7 separate regions of the Homo sapiens genome follow, and all the other regions are linked to region 1. The links are contacts of gene promoters, found by promoter capture Hi-C in human tissues and cell types (Jung and others, 2019). All regions are on one chromosome and are shown on one strand. The core of a region is centred on a gene start or on the middle of the fragment in contact, and the rest is flanking DNA. Distances in the headings are between cores, read along the strand shown. Region 1 holds the start of SHISA9 (shisa family member 9). Region 2 overlaps SHISA9 (shisa family member 9). Region 3 has its middle 46 kb from the start of SNX29-AS3. Region 4 overlaps SHISA9 (shisa family member 9). Region 5 overlaps SHISA9 (shisa family member 9). Region 6 overlaps SHISA9 (shisa family member 9). Region 7 overlaps SHISA9 (shisa family member 9).

Region 1 (3,585 bases), core at 740-3,239:
CATGTAGTGGCTGGAGGGCAGTTTCTGGACTCAAATTTCTTGGGTCAAATGTCAATTCTGGCACTCATTTGGCAGAGCTACTTGGGCAACTGGTTTAACTGCTTTGGGGCTCATTCTCTCCCTCTGTTGTGTGGGCCTGGTACTATTACCTAAGGGAGAGAGAGTTACATGAAACCAGTCACTCGGTGGTTCAGCAAATATTTCCAGACTGTCTGCTATACGCTGGGCACTGCTCTAAGCTTTCTTGAGGAGCTGCTTTTAGAAAAAGCAAGCTTAGTGAGTATGTTGCAGGCACTGAATAAATGTCAGCTCTCATTAGCTCTCACACACCAGTGCTTGTGTTTGTAGGACTCACAAGGTGGTGGTGGGCGTGGGTTGCCAGTCATGACAGACTTTCCATACTCTCCTATTTTGGGGATTCTATTATAATGAATCTGGTGAATCTGGATTAAACGTGTTCATACCTTCCCCAGATGGGTTTGGAATATAATACTCCTGGGTATGCCCTGTCAATGTCTTGCTGTGTGTTTGCAAATCTTTTTTGAAACATCAAAATGTGACTTTTTTTTTCAAAGAGAAGGGGCGATTAGCCAAACTTCTCATTTGGAGAAAACTTGCAACAGAGTCCCAATAAATCCTCCCACCCTTTCTCAATTCAGGGGACCCTAGTAAACCATTTTACATGTCGCCCAACTTTTCGTTCTCTGAAGATGCCCTGAGAAGCCCTTGACTGCAGCCAAGTGGAGAGGAGGGTTGTGGAAACATTATCTCCTTGCAAATCGCCTAGCAGCCTGCAAAGTGTATACTTAGTTAATGCAATTAAAAAACAAAACGCCGGGGCGTGGGGAGATCTAAATTTGGTGTAGCAGCTTTGGTGCAAATCCTGTTTTGGGGCTACTGGAGTCAAATTCAAGCAGAGGAGAGAAAGAGGTGGGAGAAATGAGAGAGGGCCTCCGGGGAGCTGGAATTCGCTAGGAGAGAGAGGGCAGATTTGGAAACACAGAGGAGACGGGAGGCTGGAAGCTGAGGAAGCAAGGCAGAGCTCTGCAGCCCCCGGTGAGGATTTCCGGGGGGATCCGTGGGGACAGGGGCCAGCCAGCTCCAGAGACCGATGCGCGGGCTCCAGGTCCGGGAGGGTGGCTGAGGCTGGGTGCCCAGGCCTTGCGCTGCGCCAGATCCGGGAGCGCAGAGGCGGCGCCGCGGTGTTCCCTCCTGTGGAGCGCAGAAAACGCTGCGGGGGCGAAGAGGGACAGAAAGCGGCAGGTTCGAGAGGCTGGGGGACTTCCAAGGAAAGACCTTCCAGGACACGCCATAGCCTCGGCCTTGTTCGGCTGTCCCCTCTTACCCCCGACCTTCTTTGATTCGTTCATCCCGAGCCCCTCTCCCCCGGAGGGTGCTTATCCCTGGCTCAGGGGCTTGCCACCTGTCCTTCCCAGCTCCGCCTGGGTCCTTGCTTGGGCCCAGAGAGTTGAGCCATGCGGGTTGCGCTCAGGGCTGGAGGGCGCAGCCGGGAAGGGCAAGGAGGCCCCGCACGCCTGGGAGGGGCGATCCTGACCAGACTGCACCCAGTCTGTCTTGGAGTGAAAGCCATTTAGTCTGTCCCCATCCTCTCCGAGTCATCCTTCCCCTGATGCACAGATTTCGGCCGCCGCTCCTGCACACGCACCGGTGAAAAAGCTACGAGCTGAGCCGCCTCTGCGCTCTGGACAGGGCTGAGCCGCGCCTCCTACCCAGAGAGGGCGCGGGAGGTCCTGCCGCGGTTTTCCACCTGCCTGGAAATCCGAGCGGCTCCTCTAGCCTCGGCTGCTGCCGAGCTCGCTCCTCCCCGTCCGCTCGCCTGGCTCAGCTCTGCACGCCCCCCAGCTAGCTCCCGCTCTAGTCACCTCTTCCCCGCGCCCCCGCCCCTCTAGAGCTCGCGCCCGCCCCCCCCCACCCGCGCCTCCTCTGCCCGCCCTCCTCCCCCTCCCCCTTCCCTCCTGCCCTCCCTTCATTCCACAAGTGTCGCTTCGCTCTCTTCAGCGCACTTGGCGAGCTGGTGAGGTGAGAGGGATACTGCGAGAGGGCTAGGGGCGGCCAGTCCGGGGCTGCCGGCCAAGGCTAGGCGCTGCCAGCCCGATTCTCCTCTGCTCTCCACCCCCGCCTCACCCAGTGGCCGGCCGGACCTGCACCCCGCGCTTGACCCCGCTCATCCTCCCCCCGCCCGGCCGGGCGCGCTCCTCCCCGGCCGGCCCCTCGGCGCGCGGCGCGCTGGAGGCGAACGCGGGCTGAGGCGAACGCGGGCTGAGCCGAGCGCAGTGGCCGCCGACCACCGAGCGCCCCGCGCCGCTCCCTGCATGTGCGGCCCGCGGCGGCTCGCAGCTCCCGGCAGCAGCCTCGGCAGCTTCGGCCGCGCCTCGAGAGGCGGCCGCAGAGGCTCCAGCGGCGGCCGAGCGGCCGAGCCCGGGCTGGGAGACACCATGCGCCGCGTCCTTCGGCTGCTCCTCGGTTGCTTCCTCACCGAGCTGTGCGCCCGCGTGTGCCGGGCGCAGGAGCGAGCGGGACACGGGCAGCTGGCGCAACTGGGCGGCGTGTTGCTGCTGGCGGGGGGCAACCGCTCCGGGGCCGCCTCCGGAGAGGCCAGCGAGGGCGCTGAGGCATCGGACGCGCCCCCGACCCGGGCGCCCACGCCGGACTTCTGCCGGGGCTACTTCGATGTCATGGGCCAGTGGGACCCGCCGTTCAACTGCAGCTCGGGCGACTTCATCTTCTGCTGCGGGACTTGTGGCTTCCGGTTCTGCTGCACGTTTAAGAAGCGGCGACTGAACCAAAGCACCTGCACCAACTACGACACGCCGCTCTGGCTCAACACCGGCAAGCCCCCCGCCCGCAAGGACGACCCCTTGCACGACCCCACCAAGGACAAGACCAACCTGATCGTCTACATCATCTGCGGGGTGGTGGCCGTCATGGTGCTCGTGGGCATCTTCACCAAGCTGGGGCTGGAGAAAGCGCACCGGCCCCAAAGGGAGCACATGTCCAGGTGGGCTGCCTCCCCTTCGCCCTCCCCTCGGGGCTTCGCTCTCCCTGCTCTCTCCTCCCCACCTTCCCCCAGGCAATGGCGCTCCCCACGGTCCCCGCTCCCCGCATCCCAGCCTCTCCGCTGGGGGATGTCACCGGGAAGCCAACTTCGGCTTGGAACACGGAGAAGGGGCGCTGGGCTCAGCACAGGTGTGGGTCTGAGCGTGTTCGTGTGTGTGTGAGCGTGTGTGTGTGTGTGTGTGACTCTGCTCCCTCACCCTCTGGCCGCCTCCTCCCGCTGGTGACTGAGGCGGACTTGAGACACGTAGCCTGGGAGCCCGTGGCCCCGAAATCTTCGGGTTTGGGGAGAGGGTCCATGGCACCCCTCGGATTCCAGGTGCTAGCTTTTTGGTAAACAGGGGCAGGCGAGCCCGAAAGGGGAGGGGGGCGTGTGTGAGCCCGAGCGCGCGTGTGTGAAGGAGGGAGGGTCAGAGTGAGTGCCGCCTGCAACTCGTACGACTCGCGAAAAGGAGACGAGGGAGGTGGAGTGAGGGGAGGGCGAGAACAAAAGCCTTGCTTGGAGCGGCC
Region 2 (3,585 bases), core at 285-2,784, 250 kb after region 1:
AGATTTTGAGGCTGTTGGATGCAGCAGCATAATCCTGTCTAATACAGCTGCTAAGGAAAAGGTCTGGAATTTGACCACTAATCAGCCTGGCTTTTTACCTCCTCTCTGCAGAGCACCAAAGTGGTCTTGGTTTCTCGTTCATGATCCCTGTAGAGAGTTAGGATTTCAGGTTTAGGGTCTTTCCTTTGCTGTGAATCTTAATTTTTCTGAGCTTTTGAAAGCAGACACGGTTACGTGGTTGTTCTCAGGATGTTTTGTCAGGGTTGTTTCTGCCTCCCCAAGAAGCCTGCAGAGATGGGAACTCTGTCCCTCTCTAGACATCCCTCTCTAGACATCACTCATGGTACACATGGCTGCTCAGATTGTAGATGATGATGAAATACTTCCTGTAGGAGTTATTGGCATAGGTTAAAATGACTAAGAAGACAATGAAATAATGACATGGGATGAAATATACTGGAGTAGAATGAACTGGGGACAGAATGGCTTGAAATGGAAGAGGCTGAGTTGCAATGCAATGAAATGAAATGGAAGTAGATTAGAACAGAATGGATTGAACTGGGATCAAATGGGATGAGTTGGACTTTAAATGGGATGGAGTGGCTTAGAATGCAATAGATTGGAGTGGAATGTATTGGAATGATGTGGAGTGGAATACTTGGATATCACAGAATGGAACGAATTGGATGGAACATAATTATTTATTGAGTTAAAGGCATATATTGGAATGAAATGGATTGAAATGGAAAAAGTTGGTAGCTTAGTTCTTTTCTTCTAGGGTCCTACCCCTCCCCACCTGCCCTGGGACTATTTTTGCTGCTCTTAAGTAGTCAACATAATGTTGAGAAAATGATGTTGACTAGATGACCCCTCTGAGGGAGATAATTTCAGTCTCCTCATTAGCTCTACCAGACTGCTCTGCAGGGGATGGCCTCTGGCCTTTCATAGTGTGTTTGTTTGTGTGTGTGGTGTGTGTGTGTGTGTCTGTGTGCATACGTACATATGCACATATGGTGGGGGTAGGGCACTGTGCTAGTCAAGGTACCCAGGCCACAGCCTTTGAACTAATTAGCAATTACTGGGCCTGGGGGAAACGTGGCTGGGGTGGGGGACATTTGTTAATTCCATTTGGTGAAGTCCATGATATTATTTGCTTCTCTGCCTCTTCCCCACTTCCCCCTCTCCCCCTACCCCTATTCCATGTTCCCTGTATAGTAACAAGAGGATTTCTCTGCTTTTTTTTCTTCCCTCTCCCAGAATGAGGGAATGTGCTTGGAAACAGTTGCCGAGGGAGCAATCTTGTTTTTGAAAAAGAAACTGTAAAAAATGTGTTTGCGGGGATGCCAAAGTGGAGGAGCCTTATTTAAGTGAGTGGGGTGGTGGGAATGTGTTTACACAGCAAAAAAACGCAAGCTGGGTGTCTGCTGTTTCTTAAGTGGATGGTATTTTGAAGGGACTTCATGATCTGTCTTTTAATTCACTGTTACTGCTTCTAGTCCAGGAAAGTGTGCCTTCCTGGCATTCTTCATGTAGCTTAGGTTAAGCAGCAGAAAATTGGCAGCCAGTCTGAGCCGGTGCTTACCTAATAGAAAACCGTGTACACGCAGCTCAGACAGAGCCATATACATGGGTGTAACTGGGTGCATCAATGACCACTGTGAGGATTAAATGAGGTGGTACTTGCCAGCATGCTTAGCACTGAGCCTGGCATGTAGTAAACTCTAAATGAGTGTTAGCCCATTATTAATTGTGTGTACACGCGTATATGCACACAATCCTGCCAACACTCATTGATAGGTGCAATTGTATACACATATAAAATTACTTCCTTGGCCAGGCATGGTGGCTCACGCCTGTAATCCCAGCACTTTAGGAGCCTGAGGTGGGCAGATCACAAGGTCGGGAGATCGAGACCATCTTGGCTAACATGGTGAAACCCCGTCTCTACTAACAATACAAAAAATTAGGCAGGCATGGTGGTGGGCGCCTGCAGTCCCAGCTACTCAGGAGGCTGAGGCAGGAGAATGGCGTGAACCTGGGAGGTGGAGCTCGCAGTAAGCTGAGATCGCGCCACTACACTCCAGCCTGGGCAACAGAGTGAGACTCCGTCTCAAAAAAAAAAAAAAAAAAAAATTACTTCCTTGCACAACTGTGCAGACCAATAGCTAGGCACACCTGCGGGATTACATTGTTACACCAAACCCTATGCACACTCCTAACTATGGATACGTATAATCAGGTAGTCTCTCATCTTTGCGCTTCTCCACATCATGTGCGTCATCAAAAGATGAAGGCATGAAAGAAGAAACACATTTACTGAGTGTTTTTTATATAGAATGTATATAAATGCAATTTGCAAATTTCCTTTGGAAACCTGGCTGAGGGCTTTTCAAGTATGCATCAGAGGATTCCTATTTAGAGCTTTGTTTCTGTGTTCCACTCTTTCTTGGTTCCAAATGGCTCTTTCCTTTCCATCTCCCCTGCTGTCATCTGAATCTTCTTCTTACGTGTTTATTCATCCATCCATCATCCGTCCATCCCCCCATCCATCCATCCATCCATCCCACTAAGATGCTTTATGTGGTGCTGAGTGCTGGGCTATAAGAAAGATTTGAATCAACCCTTTCAGAGCCTCTCATCTATCCTAGCATTAAGGAAGTTGTTTGTGTGAAGCTTCGCACTAATATATGTGAAGCAATTTAGCATCACAAAGCTCTGTTGCATACATGATAATACTTGATTAGCAGAGAATGGGAGATCTCAGATTTTGGAACTTGAATGCCTGGGTCCAGATCCCAGCTCTGCCAATTATTTGCTGTAACTGGACAAGTTACTTAGCCTTTCTGTCCCCCAGTTTCTCATCAGTAAAACAGAGATCACAAAATACCCATTTTCGAAGATTTTCGTGAGGATTGAAGGAATTCATACATGGAAAGTACTTAAAACAGGATGTGGTACATATTCAGTGTTATGTGTTGTGACTAAAATTGCTATTGCTGATTTTCTCAGGCAGACCTGGGCAGCTAGTGGTGTTATCTCCATTTTGCACATAAAAAGGGTCAGGGCAGTTCAGCATTACCCCTGAATGACTGCCACTGCCTGTCAGCTGTCCTCCCTGCCTGTTCCCAAGGAGGGAGACAACCCTTCTGCCAGCCCCCAATCCGGAGGCATTCATTCATTCCCACTCTCAGTCTCCCAGGAATTGTCAGTGAACACAGATTTGAGTCTTGTTCTGAGAGGAGGGCTTCATAAAAGGCTGCTCAAGGCTCAGGAAGCCTCAGCTCCATTTGTTTGTTTTCAACACTCTCCTGCTTTGACTCATCTCCAGGGTTCTTAGCCCCTCTAACATGGGCTCCTCAGTTAGTCTGAAACAAGTTTTTTATGTCAGAAAGGGGTGGTGGAGAATGATTGGTTAAGGGTGAGTTGTGGTATATTAGAAAGAACCGGAACCTTGGGGCCAGACCTGGGCTTTAGTCACTTTCAGGCAGAACAGTTCCCTGTCCTCTCTGTGCCTCATCTGTAAAATGGGGCGACAGTTTTTCCAGTATGTCCTCTCAGAGCAGTGTAGCCATAATGGAGAAGCAG
Region 3 (3,585 bases), core at 727-3,226, 240 kb before region 1:
TGGTGCCTGTGGTCCAGCTTCCCACTTGGGGAGGCTGAGGCGGGAGGATCACTTGAGCCTGGGAGGTAGAGGTTGCAATAAGCCGAGATCGTGCCGCTGAACTCCCCCCTGGGGTACAGAGGGAAACCCTGTCTTGAAAGAAAGAAAAGAAAAGAAAAAAAAACAAGAGAAAGTGCTTTCGGAACAGAGATGAATTAAAGTTTGGAAATGGTGTGTGTGCGTTGTTTTGGGGACACTGTCATGCTGTCCAGTCAGCGGAAGTTCATCTTGTCTTAAAATCATTCTATGTGGGAACTGTCATCACATACACAGTAATGAATGTGATTGGTGTCGGTCAGGTTTCCTAGGAACGTCAGGGAGCAGAGAAGGCTGCCCAGGACACAGGAAACATCAGTGTTTAAGTCGTCTCGCAAGAGACAAAGGCTGCTCTCTGTTCACCCGCGCCAGGCACAGGGCGCGGTACCTCCTCGGCAAGTCTTTGGAATGGATGAATAATCGGAAGGTTCATGGTGTTGGGAGGGTTGCTGAGCAGGGAAGCCTTAAATCCAGAAAGCCTCATCTGCTTCACAATGAAACACAGCACAGAGGAAGCAACAAGGAGGCAACACACATTTATAAGAAGGGTGAGGCCCCAGGCCAGGCAATGAGGACACAGTGGCTATGAAGACACTGCTCCTGCTCTCAGGGTATCATGTTGGATTTCATCCCACAACGACATAACAGAACAGGAAAACCCGAACCTATAGGGTAAATACAATACCATGTCACTTTAACAGTTTTTCACACCAAAATATGTGGTTTAAGGGTGTGATATTGCAGTTTGGTAGCCTTTTTTTTTTTCTTCCTTTTTTTTTCAGAGACAGGGTCTTGCTTTGTTACCCAGGCTGGAGTGCAGTGGCATGATCACAGCTCACTGTAGTCTTGACCTCCTGGGCTCAAGCGATCCTCCCATCTCAGCCTCCCAAGTAGCTAGGACTACAGATGTGTGTCACCATGCCTAGCTAACTTTTTATATTTGTAGAGATGGGAGGGGTGGTCTCACTATGTTGCCTAGGCTTGTCTTGAACTCAAGCAATCCTCCCCTCTCAGAATCCCAAAGTGCTGGGATTATAGGTGTGAGCTACTGCACCACTGAGCCAAAAACCTGCCTTGGTAGCTTTTTATTAATTACTCATTATTTTATTTTATTTTTTAGATGGAGTCTCACTCACTTTTGTCCAGGCTGGAGTGCTGTGGCATGATCTTGGCTCACTGCAACCTCTGCCTCCTGGGTTCAAGTGATTCTCCTGCCTCAGCCTCCCGAGTAGCTGGGACTACAGGCATGTGCCACCACGCCTGGTCAATTTTTCTATTTTTGGTAGAGACGGGGTTTCACCATGTTGGCCAGGCTGGTCTCAAACTCCCGACCTCAAGTGATCCACCTGACTTGGCCTCCCAAAGTGCTGGGATTACAGGTGTGAGCCACTGCACCCGGCCTCCTTGGTAGCTTAAGAGAGCAAATCCAGAGTATTTCAAAAATACTATGAGATGAAATCATTAGCTCTTTTTGTGGAAGCTTGAAAGGACAGCTTGGAAGACCAAGGAGAGACTTTCAAACATCACAGTAACAGGCTACATCCTGGATCCGCTCTCCTTCAGTGCCTACAACACATCCATATGGTCTGCCCAGAGGCAGGGATTCCGTGAAAGGCAGATGTCACCCGTTCTATACAGATGGTGGCTCTTTCCTGACATGACCAAGGCGAACTGTGCATAAATCCAGAAAGCCTCACCTGCTTCACAATGAAACACAGCACAGGGTGCCTCTGAGAGAGGAATTAGCAGGAAATGGACATGCGCCTATCAAACAATGGATCGATTACATTATCCCACGTCTCCATCCACTGCCCTAGCCTCATTGGCCTTTCCATTCCCTCCATTCTGGTCTCTAAAAAGAAGGGTTCGGCTGGGCATGGAGGCTCACACCTGTAATCCCAACACTTTAGGAAGCCAAGGTGGGTGGATCACTTGAGGTCAGGAGTTGGAGATATGGCTATGTTGCCCAGGCTGCAGTTCTTTATGTATTTTGGATACAAGCCCTTTATCTGATAAATGTGCTGCAATTTATTTTTCCAGCCTTGCCTCCCATTTTCTAATATCACTGAAGAGCAAAATCTTTATAATAAAGTCCAATTTAGTAATATTTTGCTTCGTGACTCACGTTTTCTGTTTGTTGAGCATAGAGAATTTAATTTTTTAAAAAATTTCACAAAATATGAGAAGTTGTTGGCTAGCATTTTTCCAAATTTTTGGGGGCCCATTCTTTCTTTCCTTTCTGGTACTCATCACCTGTACTTTAGACTTTTGATATAGGGTCCTGAAGCTTTGCTTAATAAAATCCTTTTTGTCTTTGTATTTTAGAATGAATACTTTCTACTGATCTGTCTTCATGTTTCCTGACTCTTTTCTCTCTTCTCCATTCTGCTATTAAGCCCATCCAGTAAGTTTTAAAATTTCAGATGTTATATTTTTCAGTTCTGAAATTTTCATTTGATTTTTTCTATGTTCTAGGAGATATCATTTCTTTTCATTCATACTAAGTATATTTTCCTTTACTTTATAAAGCTTTGTTATAGGAGCTGCTCTGTTCTCCTGCAGTGATAATTCCAACATCTGGGGCATCTTAGGACTGTTTTATCCTTTGAGAGTGATGTATTTTCTTTTCTTTTTTCTGTTGTTGCTTTTGTTGTATGTCAAGCAATTTTGGGTTGTATGCTGGGGATTGTGGATATTACATTGTGGAGAACTAGGATTCAGTTATATTCTTCTGAAGAATGTTGAGGCTTTTGCAGGCAATTAACTTGATCAGACTCCAGTGGTAAGCTTTCTATTGCTTCCTCTGGGCAGTGATTCAAATCTTGGTTCAATTCTTTAAGCCTCTGTTGCCCTGTCTGTCCTGCTCATGCATGCTTTGGGGGTAAGCAAGAGATCTGTGTGACGCTCATATACAAATCAGAGGCTTCCTATCCCTGGCTTGTCTCCCTGCTAGGACTCCTCACTCCCCAGTGACCCAGGCTTCTTCCTCTGGTATCTCTGGTCTAATACACAGTGAATGTTAGGCCAGGCCTGGTGGTTCATGCCTGTTAACACTAGCACTTTGGGAGGCCAAGGCAGGTGAGTCACTTGAGCCCAGCAGTTTGAGGCCAGCCTGAGCAACATGGCGAAACTCCATCTACCAAAAATACAAAAATTAGCTGGGTGTGGTGGTGCATGCCTTTGGTCCCAGCTACTTGGGAGGCCGAGGCAGGAGGACTGCTTGAACCTGGGAGGTGGAGATTCTCATGTGCTGAGATTAAGCCACTGCACTCCAGCCTGGACAACAGAGCGGGACCTCGTGTCAAAAAAAAAAAAAAAAAAGTGAATTTTGAGAAAAACTTTATTGACCTCTGGTGTGCTGCTTTGCAATTGTGGTTTGCCCTCAGACCAGTGTGGAGGGGAGGAGAGACTCACCAAGGTTTTGAGTTCCTTGCATGTCTTCACTCTGAATCGCCAGGTAGGTCTTTTCGTCTATAAAGTTATCTGTAGGAAGTTTGGACTATAGGGGCT
Region 4 (3,585 bases), core at 492-2,991, 240 kb after region 1:
AGCCACCATGCCCAGCCAATTTCCTTCCTTAATAGGTAGTCTGATCACTTCACCTGATGACTCTGGAATAAGAGTCCTTTCTACTGATAAGTCCACACCATGTGGAAAAATTACGGCAGCCTTTTGTTCCCTCCTATGCCCAGTAAAATTTTTTTTTGACTAATGTCTCATTGAAAGATGGGTTAAAAGATGAGAAGGATTTCCTCTTAGATGCAAGCTCTTCTCGGTCATTGGCAGGTTCCTAAGGAGTTAGATTGAGAAGGTTTCTGCAAAAGCTTGTAGGTTCTGCAGGAAACAGAACAAGGATTAATTATTGATGTCTGTCTCCGAGTAGAATTAGGAAGTGATGACACACATGATACCACCTTGCATTCTCCATGGCATTTCAACAGAATGTATCCTTTCCCTTTCAGGAGTTTTCAAGCCTGTCTCAGCTTGTGAGAAGTCAAGTCCAGTTTTGCCTTGGCAACAATCCTAACCTTCTGTATCTGGCCAGATGGAGTTGGATGAAATATATTTGTTGGCTCTGAAATGGGAGGCAGATAGTGGAATCCATAATAGATGCTGTTGTGTGGGGATCCTAATACGGCAGTAGTGATTGGAGTCTGAGTTCATGAAAAAATATGTCTCAAGAAACCTGGAAAATGAATGAGTGACCCCCAAGTTGAGATAAGTAAAAGATCAACTCACTTATTACATCTATTAGCATAAATAGTGTTGAATTGATCACACTAGGGAGGCTCGTTAGAGAGCCCATAACGGAGGATCTAATCTTTTTATTTTTTTTTTTTTGAGACAGAGTCTCAATCTGTTACCAGGCTGGAGTGCAGTGGTGAGATCTCGGCTCACTGCAACGTCCGCCTCCCGGGTTCAAGTGATTCTTCTGTCTCAGCCTCTCGAATAGCTGGGACTACAGGTGCATGCCACCACGCCCAGCTAATTTTTGTATTTTTAGTAGAGATGGGGTTTCACCATGTTGGCCAGGATGGTCTTGATCTCTTAACCTTGTGATCTGCCCACTTCAGCCTCCCAAAGTGCTGGGATTACAGGCATGAGCCACCGCACCTGGCTGGAGGATCAAATCTTTAATCATGTTCCCTGCCTCATTTCTTTGATCATGCATGCTGCATCTAACTATTCCTGGGCCCCAGTTCATTCCTCTTCCTATGGCTTTGTCCAGCTGTTTCTTTGCCTGAAATGCCATTTTCTCACTCTGTTTTCATGGCTAACTCGTATTTTTCTTCAGGACTAAGCGCAAGTAGATTCCCAAGGATGCTGCATCTCAGATGTTACATGAATGATAGTTCACACAGATAATTTGGTAAAATAGATTTCTGGGCTTTAGCTCCAGAGATTCTGACTCGGTGGGTCTGGGGTAAAGCCTGAGAATTTGCATTTATGCACACCCAAAAGTGATGGTGATGCCGCTAGTCCCTGGGCTATATTTTGAGTGGCTGTGCTCTAGGACTTTGCTTCTCTACCTGTGTTCTGTGGACTAGCAACAGCAGCAGCATCTGAGAGCCTGATGGAAATGCAAAATCTGAGGCCTCATCCCAGAGCAACTGAATCAGAAGCTGCATTTTAATAAAATGTGTGGGTAACTCATAGATTGGAACTTGAGACCAATGGTCCAGGAACTCTTCTTTGACCTTCCTTTCCTAGAATAGGTGCTTACATTTTCCACAGTGTCCTTCTCCTACACTGTTTCATCCTTATCACACTATTATAATCAGGATGGCTACTTTTTAGACCTTAAGCTTTTGATAACAGGGGCGGCATCTTCATCACTGTAGATTCATCTCCTATGACACTGCCTGGCATATAGGAGATTCTCAGAAAATATAAATTGAATGAACAGATATGGCAGCCCCCAGACCTTAGACTCCACGAACTACCCCTCCTCTCAGCCTCATTCAAGTTGTCTTTTGTAGACTCTTGAAGAAAGATTTTCCTTAGTGGTTCACAATTATGGATGGATGTCTCACAAGGGGAGTCTTTGAGCCGTTTAGGAGGACTAGAGTGTTCCACACATATCATCTCTTGTTCACATGCAAAGAATTGCTGCCCTATGAGTCATTTTCCCCCATTCATGTGAGCATGTTATGAGGATTCCTATTTGGAAACTTTTATTATTTTTTTTTTGTAGGATTCATGGCTCCTGACATGGCCAGAGTGTCTGACCCCTTATTTGCAGTTTTTAATTCCATGGTACCCACCTTTACCTTTGCTTTTTGATTCATTGGACATCTTGGGCTTGGAGCATCTATTAGGACACCCTGAAGCATTGCGGGATGGAGGGGAGGAAGATGTAGCTGATGCAACTCCTATCCTCAAACGTGGGGTACTAAGTTGCGAATTAGAGGAATGAAGTTGTCACCACTACAGTGCCATTACCTTCCACTGTGGCCTCAGAAATATCATCCTTTCTGACTGTTTTCTCATTGCAGGGTTGGGTTTTATTTGTAATTTGTTTCTTCACTTCTTCATTTCTCTTCCTTAACTTTATTCCCTCTATTATCTCCCTCCCTCCCTTCCCTCACTCCCTTCCTTTCTTCTTGCCATCTTTCTTTTCTTTCTAATTCCCTTCCTCTATCTCTTCCTTCTTCCCTCTTTTTTTAACTTTCTCCATCCCCTCCTCTCACTTGCTTTTCCTTTCTTCACACCCCTTCCCTCCCTCCCCTCCCTCCCTCCCTCCGTCCCTCCCTTCCTTCTTTCCTTCCTTCCTTCCTTCCTTCCTTCCTTCCTTCCTTCTTCTCTTCCTCTTCCTCTCCCTCTTTCTCTCTCTCTCTTCCTTCCTTCCTGTCTTTCTTTTCTCCCTTCATCCCTTCCTTTACTTTATCGGTAAAGTAGAACCACTCCCTTAAGGATTTCCTGTGGAGTGCCAATATGGAAGCCTGCTATAAACAGAGTTGCCCTAGTTGAAGTGTGCATGGCATGGTCTGTAGCACGAGTCTCCTCCGCATTCCCTGTCTTGGAAACAATTCTTCAGAATTCCAGATTTCGTAAAATTCAGTTTCCAAACCACTGGAATTGACCATCTGAGGTGGACATTTTGTTCCTAACAATTTAAGGTTCATATGAGTAAACAAGACAAGTCAGGTTAGAACCTGTTATTTGGCATTGCTCAGCAAGGCAGCTTTAAAACTGTCACCTTGGAACCTCAGAAGAGGCAGGCCTTGCTCTTCAGAGTCACTCATTAAGCTACTGGCTCTGACTCAGTTGAGGTCCCTGGCTGTCTATATCCTGGTGGCTTTGTCACAGCCTCACCCACCTCTCACCTGACTGCCCAGCTTGGCTCTGGCTTTATGCTTTGGCTTTTGACCCTCGGTCATTCCTTCTTGTTTTGCGAGTAGATAGTCCCCTCCCCTCTCCTCTCCTCTCCTCTCTTCTCCTTTCCTCTTCTCTTCCCTTCCCTTCCCTTCCCTTCCCTTCCCTTCCCTTCCCTTCCCTTCCCTTCCCTCCCCTCCCCTCCCCTCCCCTCCCCTCCCCTCCCCTTCCCTTCCCTTTCTTTTTAGACAGAGTCTTGCTCTGTTACCCAGGCTGGAGTGCAATGATACCATCTCTGTTCACTGTAACCTCCACCTC
Region 5 (3,585 bases), core at 508-3,007, 210 kb after region 1:
AATGCCCTCCACACATGGCTGCAACTGAGATATTTGCAATGGAATGTTCAGGTCCTTCCATGCCCAGCCATTTGCTGGAGCATTTCCGCCTACTAGTCATTCTGCCAAGCCTCCCATTCCTGCCACAGCCAACCCCAAGGAAGGGGGAACACAAAGACGTCTGTGGCTGTCTGAACGTGGCTTTTTCTCCAGATGGGACAGATGCAGTGGCTGTAAAAGCAGCTGCGATGTTTCCGTGCTGAAAAGGGCTTTTCATGCAAGAGACGAAAAGAGGAATGTCATGCTGGAAAGGTGAACTTTGGGAGCTGGTATGAAAAGAATGTGATGTGTGCTCCCTGTTTCTCTGGGACAAATGAGTCATGTTTGAGAAATGGTCCCTTTTCAGCCTCAATGACTGCTTGCATCTATTTCAACATCCAAAAAAAGTACAGGGAGAGGAGAGCTGGAACTTGAGCAAGACTCAAAGGTTGCTGGAGACTCGGAAACAGTCATCTGATGGTGTGACAGGTCAGTGAGCCAATCAGCCAGCCAAAGAGCTGTGATGAAGGGAGAGTCTGTGATTGTAGAGTGACACATGGCCTCATTTATCCTGGAGAAAGCTGGGGAATTTGGTCTCAGACAGCTGGTACTGAATTGAGTCTTTGTATGTCCAAGAGACAAGATATTCATTTAAATTGAACAGATGCCAATGTTACTTGGGCTCCTTAGTGGTAACTGATCCTCCCCTCATGGGCCTGAAGGTATTAAAAAATATTTAGTACGTGGCTTCTAAGATTTAACTGTAGCCCTTAAGAAGTAAACTCAGACATACAAGAGATGTGAAACTGGCTAGCCATATGCAGAAAACTGAAACTGGACCCCTTCCTTACACCTTATACAAAAATTAACTCAAGATGGATTAAAGACTTAAATTTAAGACCGAAAGCCATAAAAACCCTAAGAGAAAACCTAGGCAATACCATTCAGGACATAGGCATGGGTAAAGACTTCATGACTAAAACACCAAAAGCAATGGCAACAAAAGCCAAAATTGACAAATGGGATCTAATTAAATTAAAGAGCTTCTGCACAGCAAAAGAAACTATCATCAGAGTGAACAGGCAACTTACAGAATGGGAGAAAATTTTTGCAATCTATCCATCTGACAAAGGGCTAGTATCCAGAATCTACAAAGAACTTAAACAAATTACAAAAAAAAAAAAAAACCCAAAAACAAAAAAACAGCTTCCCTTATTTCTTAAGGTGATCTCAGATGGCAGACTCCCTGAGTTCAAATCCTGATTGCAGAAGATCATTGAATAATTTATTTAAGTCCTCTGTGCCTTGGTTTTCTCATCTGTAAAGTCAGACTGAAAACACCTCCCTGTTTTGAGGATTAACTGAGATTATCTGTGTAAGACACTTAGCATATTGGTGGGCACATAGAAAGGCCAGAGTAAACATTAACTATCATTACTATTAGTTTGAAATTTATTTTTTATTATTAAGATAATTTTCTTTTTGGAGCTTCTATTTAACCAGGTGGATGAAATTCAAATCTTACCCTATTCCAGGTAACCTCAAGCAATTCAGTATTGAATATTAAGTATTCAATGCAGTATTGAATTGCCTCTCCCCAAAGATTTGGATTCTGTAAATGTGTGGCAGAATTGTGTTTAAAGGAGGGTAGGAGACTATGATTGTTCCTGGATAGGTGAGAGGCCATCTGGTCTTCAGTTATCATCTGTTGAGGCAGACATTCGTGGAAACCCATTTCATCTTGTATTTGCAGATGAGAAAACTGAGGCTCAGAGAGGTTAGGAAACTTGCCTAAAGACACACAGCTAGGTAGTAGACTCAAAACCAGGTCTGTCTGACTTTCGGGCCTTTGCTCTTTCCCATTTGTCTTCTAAAAATGACTCCAAAGGCCTTTCTATCTTATGCCCAGGTGGTCATACCACTCAGCAAAAGGGTAAGGATTTTTTTTTGTTTGTTTTTAAAGGAGATGGACTAGGTTGTTTCATGATTCGTCAGAAAAAGGCCTGAGGACTTGTGTCAGATGCCAAATAAAGCTTTAGTTCTTGATATGTTTAGAGAGCAATTTGGTGTTTTAGTTAATAAGAGAAATTCAATGCATATTTGTTGAATTGAAGCAGGGAGGAGAGAAGGGAAAAAATAAGAGAAAGAGGGAAGAAAGCAAGAAAAAAGGAAGAAAGATGGGAAGTGAAGAAGAAGGGAAAGAGGGAGGCAGGGAGGAAGGAAAAAAAAGGTTTTGATTTTCATTTGCCAGCCACACTGTTGGAGTATATTGGTTTTATGGAGCTTTACCAAGGTTTTATGCCTTGGAATCTCTCAAGGAACATTTTCCAAATATGCATTCTGGGACCCCACGCCACAGCTACTGAATCAACTGGAATCCCTGGGGTCAATTCTGAGCAAACAAACTCAGGCAATTTTATACAATACCTCTCATTGAGAAGCATGAGTTCGTGATTTTTTTTTTTAACAAAACAAATTAAAGACCAGTCAAGGGGTTCTTCTGGTTTGTGAGTGGCTTCATCTCTTATTTGGATGCTTCTCAGTGATGTTTCTGTTGGGAGGAGGTGCTTGGCATTGCCTTTCAGAGGCCATTAAAAGGCCCCTCTGGTTCATGGCTCCCACTCGCCTTTGTGATGGCCAAAGAATGTGTGGGGTTGACATTCTTCCTGAAACTAAATCCGGTGTCACTTAGAATTAGGGTCTCTTTTTACCCTAATTCCATCTCAGCTTGCAGGCAATAGAGTAAAAAATTTGAGGCCAGGCGCAGTGACTCACGCCTGTAATCCCAGCACTTTGGGAGGCCAAGGCAGGCAGATCACTTGACGTCAGAGGTTTGAAACCAGCCTGTCCAACATGGTAAAACCCCATCTCTATTAAAAATACAAAAATTAGCCAGGCGTGGTGGTACATGCCTGTAATCCCAGCTACTCGCAGGGCTGAGGCACGAGAATCGCTTCAACCCAGAAGGCAGAGGTTGCAGTGAGCCAAGATCATCCTGCTGTACTCCAGCCTGGACAACAGAATGAGACTCCATCTCAAAAAAAAAAAAAAAAAAAAAAAATTGAGAACATCTTCCTGGTTTTCAGGCCTAGACTGACCTAAACTAAAGTGTTTTCATTTGTTGCAGTGATGATGGTGGTAATGGCTCCCTCAAGGGGCCAGTCACAGAGTATCTGCTGTCTCTTTGGTAAGAGGGCTGTCTCAGCCAGTCAGGGTTAGTGTTAGAGAGATCACGTATTCCAGGGAGTGTCCATCCTACCAAGCCTGGAGATTGTTGCTTGATCTGTATATCCCGTGATCAAGAATAGGAGAGGACCAGCTTTGGTATAGCATCTCTGAATTAATTGGCAGCCTTCTTCAGGACTTGGCACTAATCGGACAGAAATAGACATTGAAGTTCTGGGAAAATTGTCTTGCCTGAGAGGCTCATTATTGCGTCCAATACAAAGGAATTTGGGCAGGGAGGTCAGAGTTAATGTGCTTAATATTCAGTTGCTGCAGGGACCCAGCCAAGGAATTGAGAGTGTCCTGAAAATTACTGGCCTCATTTGTTTGCCTTTTCTGGCT
Region 6 (3,585 bases), core at 306-2,805, 190 kb after region 1:
CATTTGCTTGATAGATCTTCTTCCACCCCTCTATTTTGAGCCTATGTGCATCGTTGCACGTGAAATGGGTCTCTTGAATACAGCACACAGATGGGTCTTGATTCTTTGTCCAAGTCTGTGTCTTTTAATTGGGGCATTTAGCCCATTTACGTTTAAGGTTAATATTGTTATGTGTGAATTTGATCCTGTCATTATGATGTTCGCTGGTTGTTTTGCCTGTTAATTGATGCAGTTTCTTCATAGCATTGATGGTCTTTACAACTTGGCATGTTTTTGCAGTGGCTGGTACCAGTTGTTTCTTTCCATGTTTATTTAGTGCTTCCTTCAAAACCCTTGTAAGGCAGGCCTGGTGGTGACAAAATCTCTGAGCATTGGCTTGTCTGTAAAGGATTTTATTTCTCCTTCATTTATGAAGCTTAGTTTGGCTGGATATAAAATTCTGGGTTGAAAATTCTTTTCTTTAAGAATGTTGAATATTGGCCCCCACTCTCTTCTGGCTTGCACGGTTTCTGCTGAGAGATCCACTGTTAGTCTGATGGGCTTCCCTTTGTGGGTAACTCGACCTTTCTCTCTGGCTGCCCTTAACACTTTTTCCTTCATTTCAACCTTGGTGAATCTGACAATTATGTGTCTTGGGGTTGCTCTTCTCGACGAGTATCTTTGTGGTGTTCTTTGTATTTCCTGAATTTGAATGTTGGCCTGCCTTGCTAGGTTGGGGGAGTTCTCCTGGATAATATCCTGAAGAGTGTTTTCCAACTTGGTTGCATTCTCCCCATCACTTTCAGGTATGCCAATCAAATGTAGATTTGATCTTTTCATGTAGTCCCATATTCCTTGGAGGCTTTGTTCATTTCTTTTTACAATTTTTTCTCTAAACTTCTCTTCTCACTTTATTTCATTAATTTGATCTTCAATCACTGATACCCTTTCTTCCACTTGATCGAATCAGCTACTGAAGCTTGTGCATGTGTCACGAAGTTCTCATGCCATGGTTTTCAGCTCCATCAGGTTATTTAAAGTCTTCTCTACACTGTTTATTCTAGTTAGCCATTCGTCTAATCTTTTTTCAAGGTTTTTAGCTTCCTTGCAATGGGTTCACACATCCTCCTTTAGCTCGGAGAAGTTTGTTACTACCGACCTTCTGAAGCCTACTTCTGTCAACTTGTCAAAGTCATTCTCCATCCAGCTTTGTTCCGTTGCTCGCTAGGAACTGCGATCCTTTGGAGGAGAAGAGGCGCTCTGGTTTTTAGAATTTTCAGCTTTTCTGCTCTGGTTTCTCCCCATCTATGTGGTTTTACCTACCTTTGGTCTTTGATGTTGGTGACCTACAGATGGGGTTCTGGTGTAGATGACCTTTTTGTTGATGTTGATGCTATTCCTTTCAGTTTGTTAGTTTCCTTCTAACAGTCAGGTCCCTCAGCTGCAGGTCTGTTGGAGTTTGCTGGAATTCCACTCCAGACCCTGTTTGCCTGGGTATCACCACCAGAGGCTGAAGAACAGCAAATATTGCAGAACAGCAAATATTGCTGCCTGATCCTTACTCTGGAAGCTTCGTCCGAGAGGGGCAGCCACCTATATGAGGTGTCTGTTGGCCCCTGCTGGGAGGTGTCTCCCAGTTAGGCTACATGGGAGTCGGGGACCCACTTGAGGATGCAGTCTGTCTGTTCTCAGAGCTCAAACTCCATGCTGGAGAACCACTGCTCTCTTCAGAGCTGTCAGACAGGGATGTTTAAGTCTGCAGAAGTTGTCTGCTGCCTTTTGTTCAGCTATGCCCTGCCCACAGAGGTGGAATCTAGAGGCAGTAGGCCTTGTTGAGCTGTGGTGGGCTCCGTCCAGTTCGAGCTTCCTGGCCACTTTGTTTACCTACTCAAGCCTCAGCAATTGTGGACGCCTCTCTCCCAGCCAGGCTGCCACCTCACATTTCGATCTCAGACGGCTGCGCTAGCATTGAGCAAGGCTCCATGGGCATGGGACCTGCCAAGCCAGGCACAGGAGAGAATCACCTTGTCTGCCAGTTGCTAAGACCTTGGGAAAAGCACAGTATTTGGGCAGGGAGTGTCCCGTTTTTCCAGGTAGTCTGTTGTGGCTTCCCTTGGCTAGGAGAGGGAAATCCCCCAACCCCTTGTGCTTCTTGGGTGAGGTGACGCTCCGCCCTGCTTCAGCTTGCCCTCCTTGGTCTCCACCCACTGTCTGACCAGTCCCAGTGAGACGAACCAGGTACCTCAGTTGGAAATGCAGAAATCACCCATCTTCTGCGTCTGTCATGCTGGGAGCTGCAGACCAGAGCTGTTCCTATTCGGCCATCTTGGAAAGCCGTAATTGAGAATCAGACTTTTAAACATTATATGACCATTAGAGATGTGATATGAACCTAACACTTTTTGACACCAAAACCCATTTGTGGAAATACTGATCTGGTATGGAAAGGAATATAGCTTTGAAGTTTCCCGGGGGCATAGAGTCCTGGGTTCTGTTGGCAGCAGAGGAGTTGGAAAGGGTGAGGAACATGGGGCAGCCAGTTCAAGTGGCTGCACCCCTCTTGTTCTGAGTCTTGGCCCAGGGCTTTACTTCAACCTAGGGTGACAAGATGACTTAGATGAGAGAAACTTCTATCGTAGATCCTGCCTGTCACTATAACTGTTGGGTTAAGAAAAGCCCATCTCTGCCACTTACTAGTTGGTGATCTTGGTCCAGTTGCTGTCCATCTTTGAGCCTCAGTTTGTTCATCTATAAAGTGGGATTGATGATAAGACTTATCTTGCAGGGATTTAGATGGGATTAACTGCATAATGCACAAAGGGTCCATACAAGAGGAGTTTTCATGAACACTGGCTGTCATGGATTTCCAGATAAGGACCTGCAAGAAGTGACTTAACTATTGAAATTCAAGGTATCATGTGCATATGAGAGGTGGGGGGAGTGGGGCTGATTATAAATCAGCAAAATCCCAGAGAAAGCCAGGTCTCTGGGAAAAGTCTCGTTTCCCTTTAGTAACTGGTGCTGCAGTTCGGCCCTGGATTTTTGTCCAGGCGCCCACATGTGCTTTGAGGATTTCCTCAGGAGTCTGGTATTTCGCTTCGTTGACCTCCCCAATCTCTGCCTTTGCATCCGTTTGTGTCTTTACTGAGAAGGGCCTCTCTAAGTACACCACACAGCACTGCGGGGCCTATAAATAGTGACAGGGCAAACTAGTTCAGATGCAATTGTTGCTGACTCAGACATTCGCTCCTCTGGCAGAAGGGAGGCACCATAGGATTTAAATAGGTGTGGCTCATCCCTCCCCTTCTGTGGGCTCCTTACTCCTTGTCTGCCTTTCCCACCATTCTGCCTGCGTCCCAGCCACCCCCACTGAAGGTAGGTCCCAACAGAAGCTGGCCCTTTCACAGGTCTCCTATACCAAGGAGGCTGCTGGGGTCCCGGTGTCTTGGTACTTTTCCATTCTCTCTTTGTCCTTTGCCACTGTGCTAGCAGAAAAGACGTTGGGAAAGAAAAGATTGTCATTGTCACAAGAAAGGAGATAAGGTAAAGTATGACAAATTTCCCAACCGTGCTCCTCTGATACGAGTTGTGGGTAGAGGAGGCAGT
Region 7 (3,585 bases), core at 290-2,789, 170 kb after region 1:
CTGCCGGATCAAAGTTAATGAAGCCTGTCCTCAGGAACCACAGTGGAGTTTGGCAACATCTGGTGTGATTACTACCATCATGGGTTCTGGAGACATGGCCGGTGGGGCAGTAGCTTGGTGGTGGGGAGTGGAGAGGAATTCAGGGCTTTGCAGGGCCAGGGGAGGAAGTGATGGGGCAGGACCTGCTACCTTTTAGTTATCTCTTGGCGAAATTCCAGCCGGAGGCCTTCCTGCTGTCTTGTGCCCATCACACATCCCATCTGGGTCACTGAGCAGAATCGCTGAGTTGCTGTGATTTTTAGTTCTAGCAGCTCCTACGCTTGCATGTATCATCTCATTCAATCCTTTCAAGACCTATGATCAAGTCAGTCAAAAGTCTTATTTCCATTTTATTTTATTTTAAAAAAGTAAAATCTTTTTTTTTTTTTGAGACGGAGTCTTGCTCTGTCACCCAGGCTGGAGTGCAGTGGCACGATCTCAGCTCGCTGCAACCTCCACCTCCTGGGTTCAAGGGATTCTCCTGCCTCAGCCTCCTGAATAGCTGAGATTACAGGCGCCTGCCACCACACCCAGCTAATTTTTGTATTTTTAGTAGAGATGGGGTTTTACCATGTTGGCCAGGCTGATCTCAAACTCCTGGTCTCAAGTGATCCACCCACCTCGGCCTCCCAAATTGCTGGGATTACAGGTGTGAGCCGCCATCCCTGGCCTTATTTTATGTTTTGAGACAAGGTCTTGCTACTTTGCCCAGGCTGGTCTTGAACTCCTGAGCTTGAGTGATCCTCCTGTCTTGGCCTTTCAGAGTGCTGGGATTACAGACGTGAGCTACAATGCTCGTCCCTTATTCCCATTTTATAGAGAAGGAAACTGAGGCTCTGAGGGATGAAATTGTTCATCCAAGCTCACACAGGTAGCAAAATGCACAGCCAGGTCTGGCTAAGCCCAACTCTCTCCTATCTCTCTCTCTCTCTCTTTTTTTTTTTTTTTTTGTACAACAGGACTTATCATTTCTTGAGGATTAATTGAGGTCCCTGGGGACTCAGGGTAGGAAACTTATCAGGTGGTCGAGGATGAAAAGTGGGAGCAAAGAGTCTTTGCCATCTTTCACAGTTCTGTTCAATGTAGACATCTGGCACTTGCTAACTACCAGAACACAAAGTCACTTGGATGTGGAGTATTTGCCAAGGGCATTGATCTCCCACGTGGGGTCCCTGGACTAGCATCATCAGCAGCAGCATCACCTGGGAATTTGTTAGAAATGCAAATTCTCAGACCCCAGCTCAGACCTAGTGAGTCAGAAATGCTGGATGTGGGGCCCGGCAATCTGCAGTGCAAAGTCAAATGGTGGCAAAAAGACATGTCCATCTAGAACCTGTGGCCATGACCTTATTTGGACAAAGAGATCTTTGAAGATGTTATTAAGGTAAAGATTATGAGATGAGGTTATCCTGGATAAGGGTGAGTCCTCAAACCAATGACAAGTGTCCTTAGAAGAAAAGGGGAGAGGATTCACAGAGAAGGCCATGTGAATGGGAACGAGGCGGATACAAGCCAAGGAACGCCAAAGATAGCTGGTAACATTTAGAAAGCAGGAACGAGGCATGGGACAGGTTCTCCTGCAGCGCGTCCAGAAGAAACCAAGTCTGTGGACTCCTTGGTTTCAGACTTCTGGCCTCTAGAACCGTGAGAATAAATTTCTGCTGGTCGTTTTTTTTTTTGTTTTTTTTTTTTGTGGGGGGTGCAGAGTCTTGTTCTGTTGCCCAGGCTGGAATGCAGTGGCGTGATCTTGGCTCACTGCAACCTCTACCTCCCAGGTTCAAGTGATTCTCCTGCCTCAGCCTCCCGAGTAGCTGGAATTACAGGCGCCCGCCATCACGCCTGGCTAATTTTTGTATTTTTGGTAGAGATGGAGTTTTGCCATGTTGGCCAGGATGGTCTCGAACTCCTGACCTCAGGTGATCCACCCCCCTCGGCCTCCCAAAGTGCTGAGATTACGGGCATGAGCCACCATGCCTGGCCATTTCTGCTGTTTTAAAGCACACAGTTTGTAGAAATTTGTTATGGTTGCCACAGAAAACCAATACAAAGCCCTCCAGGTGGTTCTGATTCACAATAAAGTTTGAGAACCAATGGCTCAGAGCTGTGCCTCTCCATTTCTTACCCACCCAAGGATCAGCCCAAGGATGAACATTTTTTTAATAGGCTTTTAATGGTGGTTTCTATGCACACTAAAAATTGAGAGCATTTAGCCTTGAGGATACGGTGAGTAAATACCTTTTGTCTCTCTGCAGTCTGGCCATACCCAGCCAAATGAGATATATTCTTCAGCCAGCTTCCTACACTTGTGGGAGTACTGCTATTTTTATTGTTATCATCATTACTATTATTTTTTTCTTTTCTTTTCTCTTTTTCTTTTTCTTTTTTTTTTTTTGAGGTGGAGTTTTGCTGTTGTCACCCAGGCTGGAGTGCAATGGTGGGATCTCAGCTCACTGCAACCTCTGCCTCCCAGGTTCGATAGATTCTCCTGCCTCAGCCTCCCGAGCAGCTGGGATTACAGGCACATGCCACCATGCCTGGCTAATTTTTGTGATTTAATAGAGATGGGGTTTCACCAAGTTGGCCAGGCTGGTCTCAAACTCCTGACCTCAGGTGATCCACCTGTCTCGGCCTCCCAAAGTGCTGGGATTACCGGTGTGAGCCACCGTGCCTGGCCATTACTATTATTTTTATTGCTAGTTTTCTCTGCTTCTTTGCAGTTGGCAGGAGAACAAAGTGAACCAGTTTATGGTAGAGATGATTGTACCCAGTTAGGACCCTATATCTGCCCCCTACCATAAGTGCTCCCAGCACACTGTATAAAGTATTGGGGCCTGGCTGTGAGATTAGCAGAGTCCACAGGCATGAGGCTCAGCTACCCAACTCCCATCTGGGAGGTAGGACCACTGTGGAAGCAGAGCAGGGACATGGGAATTTCCTAATCATCTGCTTGGATAGCATAATGAAGTCAACATGCTGCATAATTACATACTTGGGAAGTTTCCATTATTCACCATGTTGTGATCTCTAGCACCTGGTGTCAGCCCCTCCAGAGACAGAGAGGCTGGCTGGCAGGAGGAGCTTGCATGGCTCCCTGAGCCCCGAAGCCAAGGGATCCTGAGTACGTCATCATGCCTTGAACCCGTGGGAGGGTCTTTTGAATCCAAGTTGTCCTGGTGCACCTCCTGCCTGCAAGAGACAGGAAGACGGGAAGACGCAGCAGGCTGGGAGGAATGGTCAGCTAGGGTCGTGGGCTCCCCAGGGGATCCTTCTCGTTCTGAAAACTCAACCTAAGGCTTTCTGGATTTGCTGAGCAGGAGCGGCCCATTCCATTCATAATATCTATTGGTGGCATTGTTCATCTCCTCTATGCAAGGCGCTTCACATATTATCATAGCTAAGCTTCGTAAAATGTCTATTCTGAAGGTACTATTGATTCACATTTTAGAGAAGATGAAGTAGGCCAGCAGAAAAAGTAGCCTGATAAAGATCACACAGCTGGTAAGACAGAAGCAGGATGTGTCTAACTCAGTGTTTCTTATCTAGATA

Evidence for each region. The method cuts DNA at HindIII sites, captures the fragments that hold promoters and counts their contacts. A contact is called where the count stands out against the background at its distance.
Region 2: a fragment that was not itself captured here is called in contact with the fragment with the promoter of SHISA9 in region 1 in 8 of the 25 tissues and cell types used here (H1 embryonic stem cells, bladder, dorsolateral prefrontal cortex and 5 more).
Region 3: a contact is called between a fragment that was not itself captured here and the fragment with the promoter of SHISA9 in region 1, in 2 of the 25 tissues and cell types used here (dorsolateral prefrontal cortex and mesenchymal stem cells).
Region 4: a contact is called between a fragment that was not itself captured here and the fragment with the promoter of SHISA9 in region 1, in 3 of the 25 tissues and cell types used here (bladder, dorsolateral prefrontal cortex and thymus).
Region 5: a fragment that was not itself captured here is called in contact with the fragment with the promoter of SHISA9 in region 1 in 5 of the 25 tissues and cell types used here (dorsolateral prefrontal cortex, heart right ventricle, liver and 2 more).
Region 6: a fragment that was not itself captured here is called in contact with the fragment with the promoter of SHISA9 in region 1 in 2 of the 25 tissues and cell types used here (H1 embryonic stem cells and dorsolateral prefrontal cortex).
Region 7: a contact is called between a fragment that was not itself captured here and the fragment with the promoter of SHISA9 in region 1, in 2 of the 25 tissues and cell types used here (H1 embryonic stem cells and mesendoderm cells).

The regions. Positions count from the first base shown.
Region 1 is chr16:12,899,609-12,903,193 of GRCh38, forward strand. It overlaps SHISA9 (shisa family member 9), which reads left to right and starts at 1,990. Exons shown (of 5, transcript NM_001145204.3): 1 at 1,990-3,019. The coding sequence starts at 2,457. The HindIII fragment of the contact is 6,671 bases long and covers 1-3,585 here.
Region 2 is chr16:13,154,622-13,158,206 of GRCh38, forward strand. All of the region lies in intron 2 of SHISA9 (shisa family member 9), which reads left to right. Among named protein-coding and RNA genes, the nearest start is that of SHISA9, 250 kb to the left of the region's middle. The HindIII fragment of the contact is 6,009 bases long and covers 1-3,585 here.
Region 3 is chr16:12,655,305-12,658,889 of GRCh38, forward strand. No RefSeq gene overlaps it. Among named protein-coding and RNA genes, the nearest start is that of SNX29-AS3, 46 kb to the left of the region's middle. The HindIII fragment of the contact is 4,296 bases long and covers 1-3,585 here.
Region 4 is chr16:13,136,683-13,140,267 of GRCh38, forward strand. All of the region lies in intron 2 of SHISA9 (shisa family member 9), which reads left to right. Among named protein-coding and RNA genes, the nearest start is that of SHISA9, 240 kb to the left of the region's middle. The HindIII fragment of the contact is 4,939 bases long and covers 1-3,585 here.
Region 5 is chr16:13,110,155-13,113,739 of GRCh38, forward strand. All of the region lies in intron 2 of SHISA9 (shisa family member 9), which reads left to right. Among named protein-coding and RNA genes, the nearest start is that of SHISA9, 210 kb to the left of the region's middle. The HindIII fragment of the contact is 4,488 bases long and covers 1-3,585 here.
Region 6 is chr16:13,090,645-13,094,229 of GRCh38, forward strand. All of the region lies in intron 2 of SHISA9 (shisa family member 9), which reads left to right. Among named protein-coding and RNA genes, the nearest start is that of SHISA9, 190 kb to the left of the region's middle. RefSeq lists a silencer at 1,898-2,057. The HindIII fragment of the contact is 4,168 bases long and covers 1-3,585 here.
Region 7 is chr16:13,072,251-13,075,835 of GRCh38, forward strand. All of the region lies in intron 2 of SHISA9 (shisa family member 9), which reads left to right. Among named protein-coding and RNA genes, the nearest start is that of SHISA9, 170 kb to the left of the region's middle. The HindIII fragment of the contact is 4,813 bases long and covers 1-3,585 here.